Regions from separate parts of the Homo sapiens genome. Here regions 2, 3 and 4 are each linked to region 1. Evidence: promoter capture Hi-C in human tissues and cell types (Jung and others, 2019). All regions are on one chromosome and are shown on one strand. The core of a region is centred on a gene start or on the middle of the fragment in contact, and the rest is flanking DNA. Distances in the headings are between cores, read along the strand shown.

Region 1 (3,101 bases), core at 397-2,896:
GTGGCTTACACCTGTAATCCCAGCACTTTGGGCAGCTTAGGGGGGTGGATCACCTGAGATAACGAGTTCGAGACCAGCCTGGCCAACATGGTGAAACCCAGTCTCTACTAAAAATACAAAAATTAACTGGGTGTGGTGACATGCGCCTGTAATCCCAGCTACTTGGGAGGCTGAGGCAGGAAAATCGCTTGAACCAAGGAGGCAGAAGTTGCAGTGAGCTGAGATCACGCCACTGCACTCCAGCCTGGGCAACAAGAGCAAAACGTGTCAAAAAAAAAAAAAAAAAAAAAAAAAGGTTGGCTCAAATTTTTCATGAACATTGAGTGCAGCAAAAAAAAAACATGCCTGTCCACCAAGCTGTCTGTGGGCCATGTTTGGTTTGAGAATCCTAGTTTATTCTCGGGTCCCTTAAGGCTCTCTTTGATGCTCATTCTGATGACATTACACTAAGATTTACTGATTGAGGGTACGGACACTTCTCCATACACACTTGCCCAGGAACGATCTCCAGTTACCTGTCCTGTCTCCAAGATCTTCTCTCTCTCATCCAATCTTGCCTATGCAGCATTCTATTTTCAGAGTCGTCTTTGCTAATTTGGGGAAGTCACTTATTCAAACAAGAAAGTGGTTGACAAATGTTTAGCAATGAAATCTCCCGCGAGTTACTACTTTTTAATTAGGATTTTCAACCCTAAGAAAGATATAGATAGGAGGAATAAGATAGGGGGAATAAGGAAACTAATTTTGAGGGGTTTCCCTGCCTCTTAGGTGGGGTTTATCATATTGTGCTGAAACTGCTTATTCGTCTAGTTCTCCAGACCCTGGGCCATTTATCTTACGTATCCCTATCTCTGAGCGTGTAGAAGGCGCTCCATAAAACTGTTGGTTTGTGTAAATGACCGAAAACTACATGCAGCGTGAGGGTGGATTTCCCTTTGACTTCGGCTTAAGGAAGAATCGTTCCCATGATCATCCCACAATTCATCTAAACGGAGATAGGCAAGGAGCAACTGCTCAAAGGCAAAGCGCTGGCAGCTGAGGCACAGCTCCGGTTCGGCAAACGTCTCCCGAGTGCCAAACGTCCCCCCAAACGCCTAACTGGTCGTCAGGGCGCAGAAAAGAAGCTTGGGGGGCGCGGTCTTCGCCCCAGCTCCACTTCGGTGCTTCACGATTCCTTCTCTGGCCTGCCTTCCTGATAAATACCCGGTGAGGTCACCTAAACGCTCTCCTCTCTCAGTTATTTGCTTCTTTCCAACGTTTGGCGCCCAGCTCCCGCCATCGGAGCGCCCCGCCCGAGACCACTGATCTCCTGGGGCCTCGCAGCCTTGCTTCCGAACGCCAAGGTCGCGGTGCGCCGGGGTAGCGAACGGCCAGGCCCGAAACCCCGCCCCGCAGCTAAACGCCCGGCCCGCTACCCTGCGCCCAGCTCCAGCCGCCGGGTCCCGCCTGGGCCTCTCCTCCTGGGAATACCGGGCACCGGTGGCCCCGCCCCTACCTGCGCGCCGCATCTCCGGGAACAACAGTCTCCCTCCCGAGCATCACAGCCAGACATGGCCCAGACCAGGGACCCGCGCGGCCTCCAATCTCCGCACGGCTTTGCGCGCGGCGCTTAGCCTGGGATACGGCAGCGAGGCCGCAAATGCAATCAGGCGGCGCTGAGGGCAGCCCGGGGGCGGGGCGAACGGGGCGGGGGCCGGGGTCTGGTAAGGCCCCGCCGGCTGAGATATCCAGCGGCGCACCTGACTTCCCGGGAGGCAAGGCCAACGTGGTTGGAGGCGGGGCTGGGTTGGGGGGCGGGGGTTCAAGTCTGAGAGACCTAAAGGCACCGCTAGCGTCTGGGGGCGTGGCCAACCATGCGGGAGGCGGGGCCTTGATGCTGGACATCAGGCTGTGCTGCGGGCAGCCAGTGAGAAGGCCGTCAAGATGGCGGCCTCCTGGAGGCTGGGCTGTGATCCGCGGCTGCTGCGTTATCTTGTGGGCTTCCCCGGCCGCCGAAGCGTAGGGCTGGTGAAGGGGGCTCTTGGGTGGTCTGTAAGCCGCGGAGCTAATTGGAGATGGTTTCACAGCACGCAGTGGCTTCGGGGTGAGTGGCCGGGGCTCGCTCAGCTTCTCTGTGTAGCTGAGTGATGGGCCTGGGACAGGGGCAGTTATGATTGAGGGCCTGCTTTTGGGTGTGAAGGTGCGCGGGCTCCTTATTCCCTTTCCTCTTTCTCCGGTTGGGGTCCGCCGACTTGGCCTAATGCATGCTGTGAAGGGCTTTCTTGGCAGCTGAGAGAACTCGACTCTGCCCTAGGCCCCCTGGTTTGTATGGCTTTGTGACCTTGCCTTGGAATTTGGGTTATTTGTGAGGCGCAGAGAGGGTTCCCAAACTCTCCTCCCTCAGCCCCCTTTCCAATCAAGGCTCAGGTTTCTTTAGGGTTGTCAAACGTCTCGGACGAGAAAAAGCTGCCCAAGGTTGCCGAGATTGAAAAGCCACTGTTGGGAGTTCTTACTTATTCTCTAGGCCTCTCTCTGTTAGGAGGTGTTTTCATTGAGGCCAGTCGAGTTTTACCCCACGCCATGACTCGTGGAAGACTTAAATTTGTAAATTCCTACGGCATCACGATAGACAAAGGTCCAGGAGAATGTTTCAAGCAAATATTCGCTTGAAAGAGCAAACATTTAGGAGATAAATCATACCAAAAATTTATTATAGAAAATTGTTGTTTAGTAATGATATTGATGCAGTTAACACAATTCTTGCAGTATTTAACAGTATGCAAAATGGCAGGCCGGGTATTATTTTTCCTTATTTTGGGAGAAGGTTGGAGGGAGGCGGGGATGGAGAATAGGACTGACGTTTTTTAGTGTGACGTATTACCTGCCAATCATCGTTCCTGGCACTCTACAGAATGAATTTTAATTTAAATAGGTCTAGTAGACGTTGCCTTCATATTCTGAGCTACCTTAGGCTCAGAAAAAAAAAATCACACAAAGTCATATGGTAAGATGAGTGTATTGGGGTTCCTAAAGGTTCCTTAATGGGAACAATTTATTTCATTTTTGGTGTAATGTTTCATAACATATTCCTTGGAGCAGAGGTGCTTTAACAGTGTGTGCAG
Region 2 (3,558 bases), core at 996-3,495, 570 kb before region 1:
CTTCTAAACTCAAAACAGTCAAGATTCTTGTCCCTTGCTAATCTGTCTCCATTGCCTTGGATGTAGCTGGCACTCAGTGAGCAGTTGATTAATGATGCCGGCATGGCATTCCTCAGGAGTACTTGGGCTGTGTTCCTTATGTATCTCCTCCCAATCCTGCATGCAGCTCCAAGCACACAACCAAAGCTGCAAAAGCACTTAGGCCTTTTTTAAAACAAGCAGGAAGACCACAAAGTGTGTTTACATGACAGGCCAGCAAAACACAAAACACCTGCTATGATCTGTGGCTGAGGATTTGGCGGCTGCCACAAGCAGGGTCCAATATCCACAGGAGAATTGCTCTCTGGGGGCCTGGAGCTTTGAATGTGCACTCTTGCTGTCATCCTGGCAGAGATGGGCTTGAGCTCAGAGGGTGAGATCTAATCTCTCTGCCCACTGCCAGACCACTTGTTGTTGGGGGTAATCGAGCCATAACTGAGCAAGGTGCAAGGGTGCTTTTCCAGATTCCATAACTTCCTCCTACCTCCACAAACAAACTGTTAGCCACCAAGGAAAGCCTTGCGAGTAATACCCATCTCCCTGAGATTTGGGTCGTGACCCTCCTTGCACCAGAGACTTTGGCAAAAATGAACACAATCAGTGGATCCAACACAAGTTTGTTAAAAACAATTAGAATATCTTATGTGTCAGGCATAACACAAAGTCCCTCACAGGGACTCTTATGAAATTCTCACAACCATCCTATGAGTTGGGTACTATTTTCAGTCCTATCTTATAGAGCTGTGTTTCACAGCCAAGGGTGAATTTGCTCCCCAGGGAACATCTGGAAAAGTCTGGAGACATTTTTGATGGTCTCAACTGGTGGTGGCTATGAAGCATCCTACAATGCCCAAGACAACCTCATGACAAAACATTAACCAGTCCAAAATGTCAATGGTGCCCTGTGATCAAGGAAGAAACTAAGGCACGGAAGTGAAACAACTTGCCCAGGGTCACACAGCTCCCAAGTGAAGTTATGAGGAATTACAGCCAGGCAGCCCCACCCCGTGCTGTGCTCTCACCAGTAAGCCTGGCTGCATCTCTCACATCCCAGGGCACTGAGTATGCATAAGGCACAACCGCATGTGTACAAGCCTCTCATTTTACAGTAGAGGAAATAGAAACATAGTGTGACTTGCTTGAAGGCCTAGGTCAGTAAGAGGCAAATCAATCTGGGACTCAATTCAGACTCCAAAGTCTGGGCCCTTCACTGCTTTGCTACATCGCTGACTCATTCTCTCCCTGTGCTCTAAACACCGAGATGGAGTCAGCAGCCGGACACCATGGGGGACTCGGAGGAAATCAAAGCCCCCTTCATACAGGCTCTTCTGCCAACTCCAGGACAGGTGCACCAAGCTCCCCAAGACCAGTGACCTAGACTCAAATCCCTCTTGGTGCCTTCTCTCCTTCATGTATTAGCCTTTGCTGAGCTGACCCGCCCATCCTTTAGAAGAGCATCGCAGTGTACTCTGCGGCTTCTCTATTCAGCTGAGCTTATTGGTCACCAGCAGGTGACACTTATAAAGGCCCTCCCTGGGCAGCAGAGCTCTCTGTGCCCTCTTCTTCCATCCCCAGGAGCAGCAATAATGGCTCTTTAAAATCAGTGGCACCTCTAGGGTGGGGAGAGCCAGCAAGCAGCATTTAAACAGAGTAACAGCAACCTTTGGAGGAAGATACACCCCTGGGTGTCAGTGCCTGCTCTTTCACTGTGGTCGTGAACACTCACTGGCCTAACAAATGTAAAGTGTCTGGACACCATAGGCCATTAACAAACAAGACCTATAACAAGTGTTGTTCTTGCTATGAGTTTGACCCTAGCTGCCATCTGAATGGGGCCAAGTACTGACCTGTATTTGCTACCTTGGATTCTGTAATTCTTTATAGGAAAAGCACAGGCCTGGGGCTTGAGCAAAATGGGACTTAGTCATTATTGAGCTTAGTTATTATTGAGCTGTGAATTCTGGACTCATGGAGACCTCTCAGTGAAAGGACACACATTCACAGGATTCTCATGGGGACCTAGAAAGCTCACAGATGAGAATAAGCTTGAGGTGTTGTGGAAAAGTCAGACCTATTACTACAGCTGCATAAGAGTAGAAATAGAGGCGAAGCATCTACCCACTGACCTGTCGGACAAAGGATGAATACTGATGGTGAGGTGGGATAAGGACAAAGCTGAGGATGTGCAACCAAGTGTCTCTGGTTTGTTTCAGAACTTCCCATTCTTGGGATGCCAACCCAGGAATGTCTTGGCAATTGATTACCTTGGTTCAGTCCTCAGACTGGAGGCAGATGGAGTGGGACACAGATGTAAACTCTTCTGAGCAATAGTCATCAACATAAATTGTCCTCTGGGGCAGCTCTGTTGGCAAGGGGGCGGTTGGTATTTCCATTCTTAAGGAAACCTTCAACTCAATCCTCCTGTTGACTTTTCTGTGGCCTGCTGTACCAGACGTCTGTTGTGAAGCCCTTCCTCTTGGGTATTGTACACTGAAGACATTCTCCTAAACTGAAAATTCCCCCAACTCACATCTTGCACATCAAAGCCAGACTTGGGAACCCTGCTAGAAAGCAGGGTACCCAAAGGTTGGATGTAGCCCCAAAATGCTGACTCTATTCATTGAGAACAACTTGGAAATTTTCTGCCTTGGTAGAAATGGGGACGGTTCTGATATATCAAAGGAATTCAAATACAAATTTTAAACCTGTATGGCGGGATCTATCATTTGCCCATCATTTATAGAGCACATATTGTAGACACCATGAGAGGTACAGGGAAGACAGCAATGCCTATGAAGTGCACAGTTTTATGGGAGAGACACACACAAGCAGGAAATGATTTAAGAATATGTCCTGGGTGCTGAGGAAACATCACAAAGGGGTGGCTCTTCCAGCTGGGGGAGTCAGGTAGAGCTTTCAGTAGGAGGAAGTGGAACAACTCTACCTTGTTCCTCTTACTACTTAAGGCTAGGGTTGCCTTTCTCAGGCGTGCGAGAAAAAAAAATTTTTCATTTCCAAAGCTTGCTCTGTTTCAGTTTTACCAACTCTCTTGGCTTTAATAAAATGGTTAAAGAGATAGGAAGCAGCCCTCATCCTTCAGACTACCCAGGTGTGGAAACTGATTAAACACCACCTGACAAGCTCAATCAACCCTTGCTGCTTCAGTTGCTTCTCTCAGTAGAAATTCATCCTACAATCTCATCACTAAATAAATCCCACAACCAGAAGAGGTTTCGTCCCTGCTCTACATGCAGCCCTTTTCTTTCTCAGCTCTAAGTGAGATGTTGAGACTTCTCTCAGCTGGTGAATAACTGAATCATTCAGAAAAGTCCTCAGTCACTATTTTTGGCCTAAAGGTCCTTAGTAGTATTGATATTACTGGCTATTACTAATAAACCTTCAGAGAAGCATTCCTTGACTGTCATTTAAATTAGCCCCGTCACACCATCCCATTACCCTGCCCTTTAAAAAAAATATTTTAAACAACACTCATTACCAAGAGAAAATCCTTGCTTATTT
Region 3 (3,197 bases), core at 317-2,816, 870 kb before region 1:
TTTTGCTTTTAGGACAGGGTCTTGCTTTGTCACCCTGGCTGGAGTGCAGTGGCACGAACATGGCTCACTGCAGCCTTAACCTCCCAGGCTCAAGAGATCCTCTCTCCTCAGCCCCCCAAGAAGCTGAGACTACAGGCACGTGCCACCATGCCCAGGTAATTTTTGTAGTTTTTGTAGAGATGGGGTTTCGCCATGTTGCCCAAGCTGGTCTTTAACTCCTGAGCTCAGGCCATCTGCCCGCATTGGCCTCTCAAAGTGCTGGGATTACAGGCATAAGCCAATGTGCCTGGCCCATTTCAGTTTTTAAATTTTAGCCATTTTGGTGACTATGTAGTAGTATCTCACTGAAGTATATCACATTAAATTGTATCTCTTTATATATTTGACTACCCTTCTTAATACTAATTTTCTGGAGGCCATAGGATTATGTCTTATTCAACATGTGAATAAACACAGACAGTGCCTGGCATGCACAAGGTGCTAAGTTCTTGTTGCAGAAGTAATGAGGGGCTGAGAAGTCTTCCAAATGCTAAAATCAAACATTTCCGGTACATAAAAATCGACCTTGCCTAAGTTTAATCATCATCAAATCCCAGTCAACAGACATGCCTGAGTGTCCACTCACTGCCAGTATTAGTCTTCTGATACTTTCTTCCCAAGGCCTCATCAGCTGAGTGCTTCATAGCATTGCCTGGCAATGTAGACACTAGAGCTGTGACAGTCCTAATCATAAAGGTAAAAGAACCCTTGAAATATGATTCCATTTCCCCCACTTTCTTCCAAAATCATATGTAAATCCCACAAAGAGTGGAATAATCTAATCCTTGTTTAAAGACAACCAGTTATGCAAATAGAGCCCCAATAAGGTACTGCTTCTCACTGAGACACATTCACTAGCACAGCGATAATCAAAAACATGGCTAAGGGCGGGGCGCGGTGGCTCACACCTGTAATCCCAGCACTTTGGGAGGCCAAGGTGGGCAGATCACCTGAGGTCGGGAGTTCAAGACCAGCCTGGCCAACATGTTGAAACCCTGTCTCTACAAAAAATGCAAAAATTAGCTGGGCATGATGGCAGGTGCCTGTAATCCCAGCTACTTGGGAGCCTGGGGCGGAAGAATAGCTTGAACCTGGGAGGTGGAGGTTGCAGTGAGCTGAGATTGTGCCATTGCACTCCAGCCTGGGCGATAGAGCGAGACTCTGTCTCAAAAAAACAAAAACAACAAACAAACAAACAAACATGGCTAATAACAAGTGTTTGATGAGGATGTAAAGAAATTGAAACCTCATACAAAGCTGAATATGGTGCAGCCACTTTGGAGAACACTTAGGCAGTTGCTCAAAATATTACATGTAGGCCAGGCACAGTGGCTCATGCCTGTAATCCCAGCACTTTGGGAGGCTGAAGAGGGCGGATCACGAGGTCAGGAGATTGAGGCCAGTGTGGTCAACATGATGAAACCCCATCTCTACTAAAAATACAAAAAAAATTAGCCGGGCGTTGTGGTGCGCACCTACAGGCCCAGCTACTTTGGAGCTTGAGGCAGGAGAATCGCTTGAACTCGGGAGGTGGAGGCTGCAGTGAACCGAGATCACACCACTGCACTCCAGCCTGGGCAACAGAGCGAGACTCCATCCCAAAACAAAAACAAAAACAAAAACATTACACATAAAGTTACCATATAACCTAGCAATCTACTGTAGGTGTATACCTAGTGAATTGAAAACATGTGTTCATACAAAAAACTTGTACATGAATGTTGCATTAGTCTGTTCTCTCATTGCTATAGAGAACTACCTGAGGCCAGGTGCAGTGGCTTACACCTGTAACCCCAACACTTTGGGAGGCCAAGGCAGGTGGATCATGAGGTCAAGAGATCAAGACCATCCTGGCCAACATGGTGAAACCCCGTGTCTACTAAAAATACAAAAAAAAATCAGCCAGGCATGGTGGCGCGTGCCTGTAGTCCCAGCTACTTGGGAGGCTGAGGCAGGAGAATCACTTGAACCCAGGAGGCAGAGGTTGCAGTGAGCCGAGATCGCGTCACTGCATTACAGGCTGGTGATAGAGTGAGACTCCGTTGAAAAAAAAAAAACTACCTGAGACTGGGTAATTTATAAAGAAAAGAGGTTTAATTGGCTTACTGTTCCACAGGCTGGGGGAGGCCTCAGGAAACTTATCATCATGGCAGACGGCAAAGGGGAAGCAGGCACAATCTTCACATGGTGCAGCAGGAGAGACAGAGTGAGGGTGGAAGTGCTACACACTTTTAAACAACCAGATCTCGTGAAACTCACTATCACAGCAACAGCAAGAGGGAAGTCTGCCCTTATGATCCAATCACCTCCCACCCACTAGGCCCCTTCTCCAACATTGGGGATCACAATTTGACATGAGATTTGGGTGGGGACACAAATCCAAACCATATCAAATATTCACAACAGCATTATTCACAACAACCAAGAAGTGGAAGACACCCCAAGTGTCTATCAATGGATGAATAGACAAACAAACTCTAGTATACCTATTCAATGGAATATTATTCAGCCATAAAAAGGAATGAAATTCATGCCAAAACAAGGATGTATCTTAAAAATACTATGATAAGTGAAATAAGCCAGGCACAAAAGGCCATATATTGTAGGGTTCCAGCTATCTAAAATGTCCAGAATAGGCAATTTCATAGAGAAAGTAGATTAGCAGTAGCCAGGGGCTAGGAGGAGGGGTAAATGGGGAATGACTGCTAATGAGGTACATGTTACTTCCTGGGGTGATAAAAATGTCCTAAAATTAGGTAATGGCAATGGTTGCATTACTCTCAAATATCAAATATACTAAAAACCAGTTAATTGTACACTTTAAATGGGTTAATTTTATGATAGGTAAATTAGAGCCCAATAAAAGTTATACAACACACTGAGCTGTTGTTTTAGTTTTGCATAATTTACTTATCTAAATTATTTGCAATAAACTTGTATTACTCTTGCAATTTTTTAAAAATGAAGGTTTAAAAATATTTAATTATAATTTATACTTTTTTTCTGTGAAAAGGCTGCATAAACGCATTCCTTGTCACACCATCATTTCTTTTTCTCACATCAAATCAGCCCTAGCTATCCTAAAGAACTGTCTTCTTTCCGCTTTAGGTGGATGTTAGCACAGCATTCACGAGGAGAAACACCACCAGCTCTAGCTC
Region 4 (3,110 bases), core at 555-3,054, 540 kb before region 1:
CATGGTTTACTGAATATTTTAATCCTACTGTTGAGACCTACTTATCACAATAAAATATTTCTTTCAAAATATTACTGCTCATTGACAATGTGCTTAGTCACCCAAGATCTCTCTCTGATGGAGATAGATAAGAAAACTAAAATTGGTTTTTTTTTTTTTTTTTTAGATGGAGTTTTGCTCTTGTTGCCCAGGCTGGAGTGCAATGGTGCAATCTCGGCTCACTGCAACCTCTGCCTCCTGGGTTCAAGTGATTCTCCTGCCTCAGCATCCTGAATAGCTGGGATTACAGTCATGCACCACCATGCCTCACTCATTTCATATTTTTACTAGAGATGGGGTTTCTCCATGTTGATCAGGCTGGTCTCGAACTCCCGACCTCAGGTGATCCACCCACGTTGGCCTCCCAAACTTCTGGGATTACAGGCATGAGCCACTATGCCCAGCCTTAAAGTTGATTTTTGCCTGCTAACACAACATCTATTTTGCAGCCCGTGGATCAAGGAGATGATCATTAGCCTTTTTTTTAGCAATGAGGTATTTTTAAATTAGGATATGTACATTGTTTTTTGGAAATAATGCTGTTGCACACTTTATAGACTACAGTATAATATCAACATATTTTATATGCACTGGGAAGCCAACAAATTTGTGTGACTCACTTTACTGCATATTTACTTTATTGCAGTGGTCTGAAACCCAAACCACAATATCTTTAAGATATGACCCTATTGGTGTCTGTGCATTTGAAGAAACAGTCACCTCTTTCAAACTTTACAGACTGTCTTTGGTAGGGAAAGACCTTTATCTGTGGCTGGCATGAGGAAGTAGCTTGATGGGCTCTGGGTGACTCTGGCAGCTGGGGTTACTCTTGGCAAAGACTGCAGGGCCTTAGCACAATGACTGCTGGGGTCCTCGATGGTGAAGCCTGCCAAGTCCTTTTGCTCTCTTTTTTTCCCAACTGGGGGACTCACAGCAGAAGAAATTCTTCTTCACTGGGCTCTGCTTGTCTGGGGAATGAGGTGAATGCAGGCAAAACGCTTCCTACCGTATTCTATGTGGGTGTTCTCAGTTCTTTTAGATTGCTGCATCTTCTTAATTGTACTCCAGAGCTTTCCTGGGGCTATATTTGTCTATGGAGCTTATGAAATTTTTTTTTTTTTTTTTTTTTTTTTTTTTTTTTTGTGGCAGGACAAGGGCTATGACCTCCTAGATTACTACACTGCTAATGTCACTTAGAACATGCACCTTTGATCAAGTTTAATCTTTAGCAGGTAGGACTGAAACCCAAAGCCACAAAAAGCAACTGAGCTGGGAGATATCTATTACAGCCATTGCCTCTAAATCTGACTATGAGAAAAGCATTTCAAATATCACATGACTTAACTTATTGGAATTTGTGGTAAAGAAATAAGAATGAGCACAAATATTTAGCAACAAAATCAATTGCAGTATTGTTAGTAATTATAAAAAGATATAAACATGTAACTGTCTAACAATGGCAGATTGTTAAAAATAAGTAAATATCCATATAGTGGAATAATATGGAGCCATTTAAAGTGATGCAGAAATATATCTTTTGTCTTGAAATATGTTTATGATAATTAGGTGAAAAAAGCAAATCACAGAAATGTTTTTTGTTTGTTTGTTTTTGAGACGGAGTCTCGCTCTGTCACCCAGGCTCACTGCAACCTCCACCTCCCGAATTCAAATGATTCTCTTGGCTCAGCCTCCCAAGTAGCAGGGAATACAGGCATGCACCACCACATCCAGCTAATTTTTGTATTTTTAGTTGAGATGGGGTTTCACCATGTTGGCTGGCTGGTTTCGAACTCCTGACCTCAAGTGATCTGCCTGCCTCAGCCTCCCAAATTGCTGAGATTACAGGTATGAGCCACTGCTCCCAGCCAACATGTGTGTTTTGATCTAACTTTTGTTTTAAAAAAGTAGAAAACAACTTAATATATGAAAGTGCTAATGGTGACAAGACAGATGGGATTACAGTTTAAAAGTAGCGTTTTTTTCCTGTTTGTCTACATTTTCTGATCTTTCTGAAATGAGCATGTATTGCTTTGTTATAAAAAAATAATAAATTTTGAAAATGAAAGTATAGAGCTTGGACCTATTATGTATTATGGAAATAAATGAATGAACTGCATAGCAATTTCTGCTATCATGACATGGGATAAAAATGTTTTAAAAGCATATTTCCCATTGCATTGTGATTTATCTTTTTACCTATCTGCCTCCCTTTAGCTGAAGATCCTCTAGGTCAAAGACTATTATTATTCATCTTTGCTTCCCTAGCATGTAGTTCACAAATTCAGCTGGTGATGAGTAAATGTTGAGTAATTGAGTAAGCAGCACATAAAAGTGTGTCAGAAGACTTAGATATTAGTCAGGGTATGTGTTGACAATCACATCGTCCATCTGATGTGTTGACAATCCCACCATAAAATACATCATGGTAAAAATCCAGTCCACCAGAGGAAGTCCTCGAGATGCAGCTAAGATGAAAGGTCAGGGGCCAAGGGCTGAGGGTAAATAATACATAGAAATCACAGATTTGTGTGTTGTGGGTGCTATATCAAAGACACCATCAAGTTTGGGGATCTTAGTAAGGATTGTAGGAAAACTGTAAATGAAACAGAAATAATAGTATTTTCAAGAGGGGTAAGGAAATGAATGGATACTTGGATGCATTTTTTTTTTCTGGAGATCAATTGAAGCACACTCATCAAAGCCTTAAAAATACGCATGATTTTTGACCTAGCAATTTTATTTCTGAGAATTTATCCTATGGAAATATTATGGACATGCACTAGAAATTAGCTCTAAAGATGTTCATCACAGTGCTATCTGTAATAACAAAAACAAACAAACAAACAAAAAACAACCAAACAAAAACAGAAATAATGCCAATATTCAACAGCAGAAAATTGGCAAGGTAAAGTATGAAATACTCATTTAACAGAATACTTTGTGATAACTAAAAAGACACTGTAGAAATATATTTCTAGATGTGGAAGATGTCCATAATATATTGTCAAATTTTAAAAAGATGTGTTACAGAACACTATTGCAAAAATAAAAATACATAGATGGGTGAAATA

What was found. Contacts are between HindIII fragments. The study calls those that stand out against the background at their distance.
Region 2: a fragment that was not itself captured here is called in contact with the fragment with the promoter of APIP in region 1 in 1 of the 25 tissues and cell types used here (dorsolateral prefrontal cortex).
Region 3: a fragment that was not itself captured here is called in contact with the fragment with the promoter of APIP in region 1 in 1 of the 25 tissues and cell types used here (spleen).
Region 4: a fragment that was not itself captured here is called in contact with the fragment with the promoter of APIP in region 1 in 1 of the 25 tissues and cell types used here (spleen).

Annotation. Positions count from the first base shown.
Region 1 is chr11:34,914,733-34,917,833 of GRCh38, forward strand. It overlaps APIP (APAF1 interacting protein), which reads right to left and starts at 1,647. Exons shown (of 7, transcript NM_015957.4): 1 at 1,496-1,647. The coding sequence starts at 1,552. PDHX (pyruvate dehydrogenase complex component X) reads left to right here and starts at 1,886. Exons shown (of 11, transcript NM_003477.3): 1 at 1,886-2,083. The coding sequence starts at 1,924. RefSeq lists silencers at 1,308-1,647, 1,668-1,717 and an enhancer at 1,888-2,187. The HindIII fragment of the contact is 5,804 bases long and covers 27-3,101 here.
Region 2 is chr11:34,348,900-34,352,457 of GRCh38, forward strand. All of the region lies in intron 1 of ABTB2 (ankyrin repeat and BTB domain containing 2), which reads right to left. Among named protein-coding and RNA genes, the nearest start is that of ABTB2, 7.3 kb to the right of the region's middle. RefSeq lists an enhancer at 3,247-3,296. The HindIII fragment of the contact is 5,708 bases long and covers 1-3,558 here.
Region 3 is chr11:34,040,843-34,044,039 of GRCh38, forward strand. No RefSeq gene overlaps it. Among named protein-coding and RNA genes, the nearest start is that of CAPRIN1, 9.3 kb to the right of the region's middle. The HindIII fragment of the contact is 8,987 bases long and covers 1-3,197 here.
Region 4 is chr11:34,378,499-34,381,608 of GRCh38, forward strand. No RefSeq gene overlaps it. Among named protein-coding and RNA genes, the nearest start is that of ABTB2, 22 kb to the left of the region's middle. The HindIII fragment of the contact is 4,751 bases long and covers 1-3,110 here.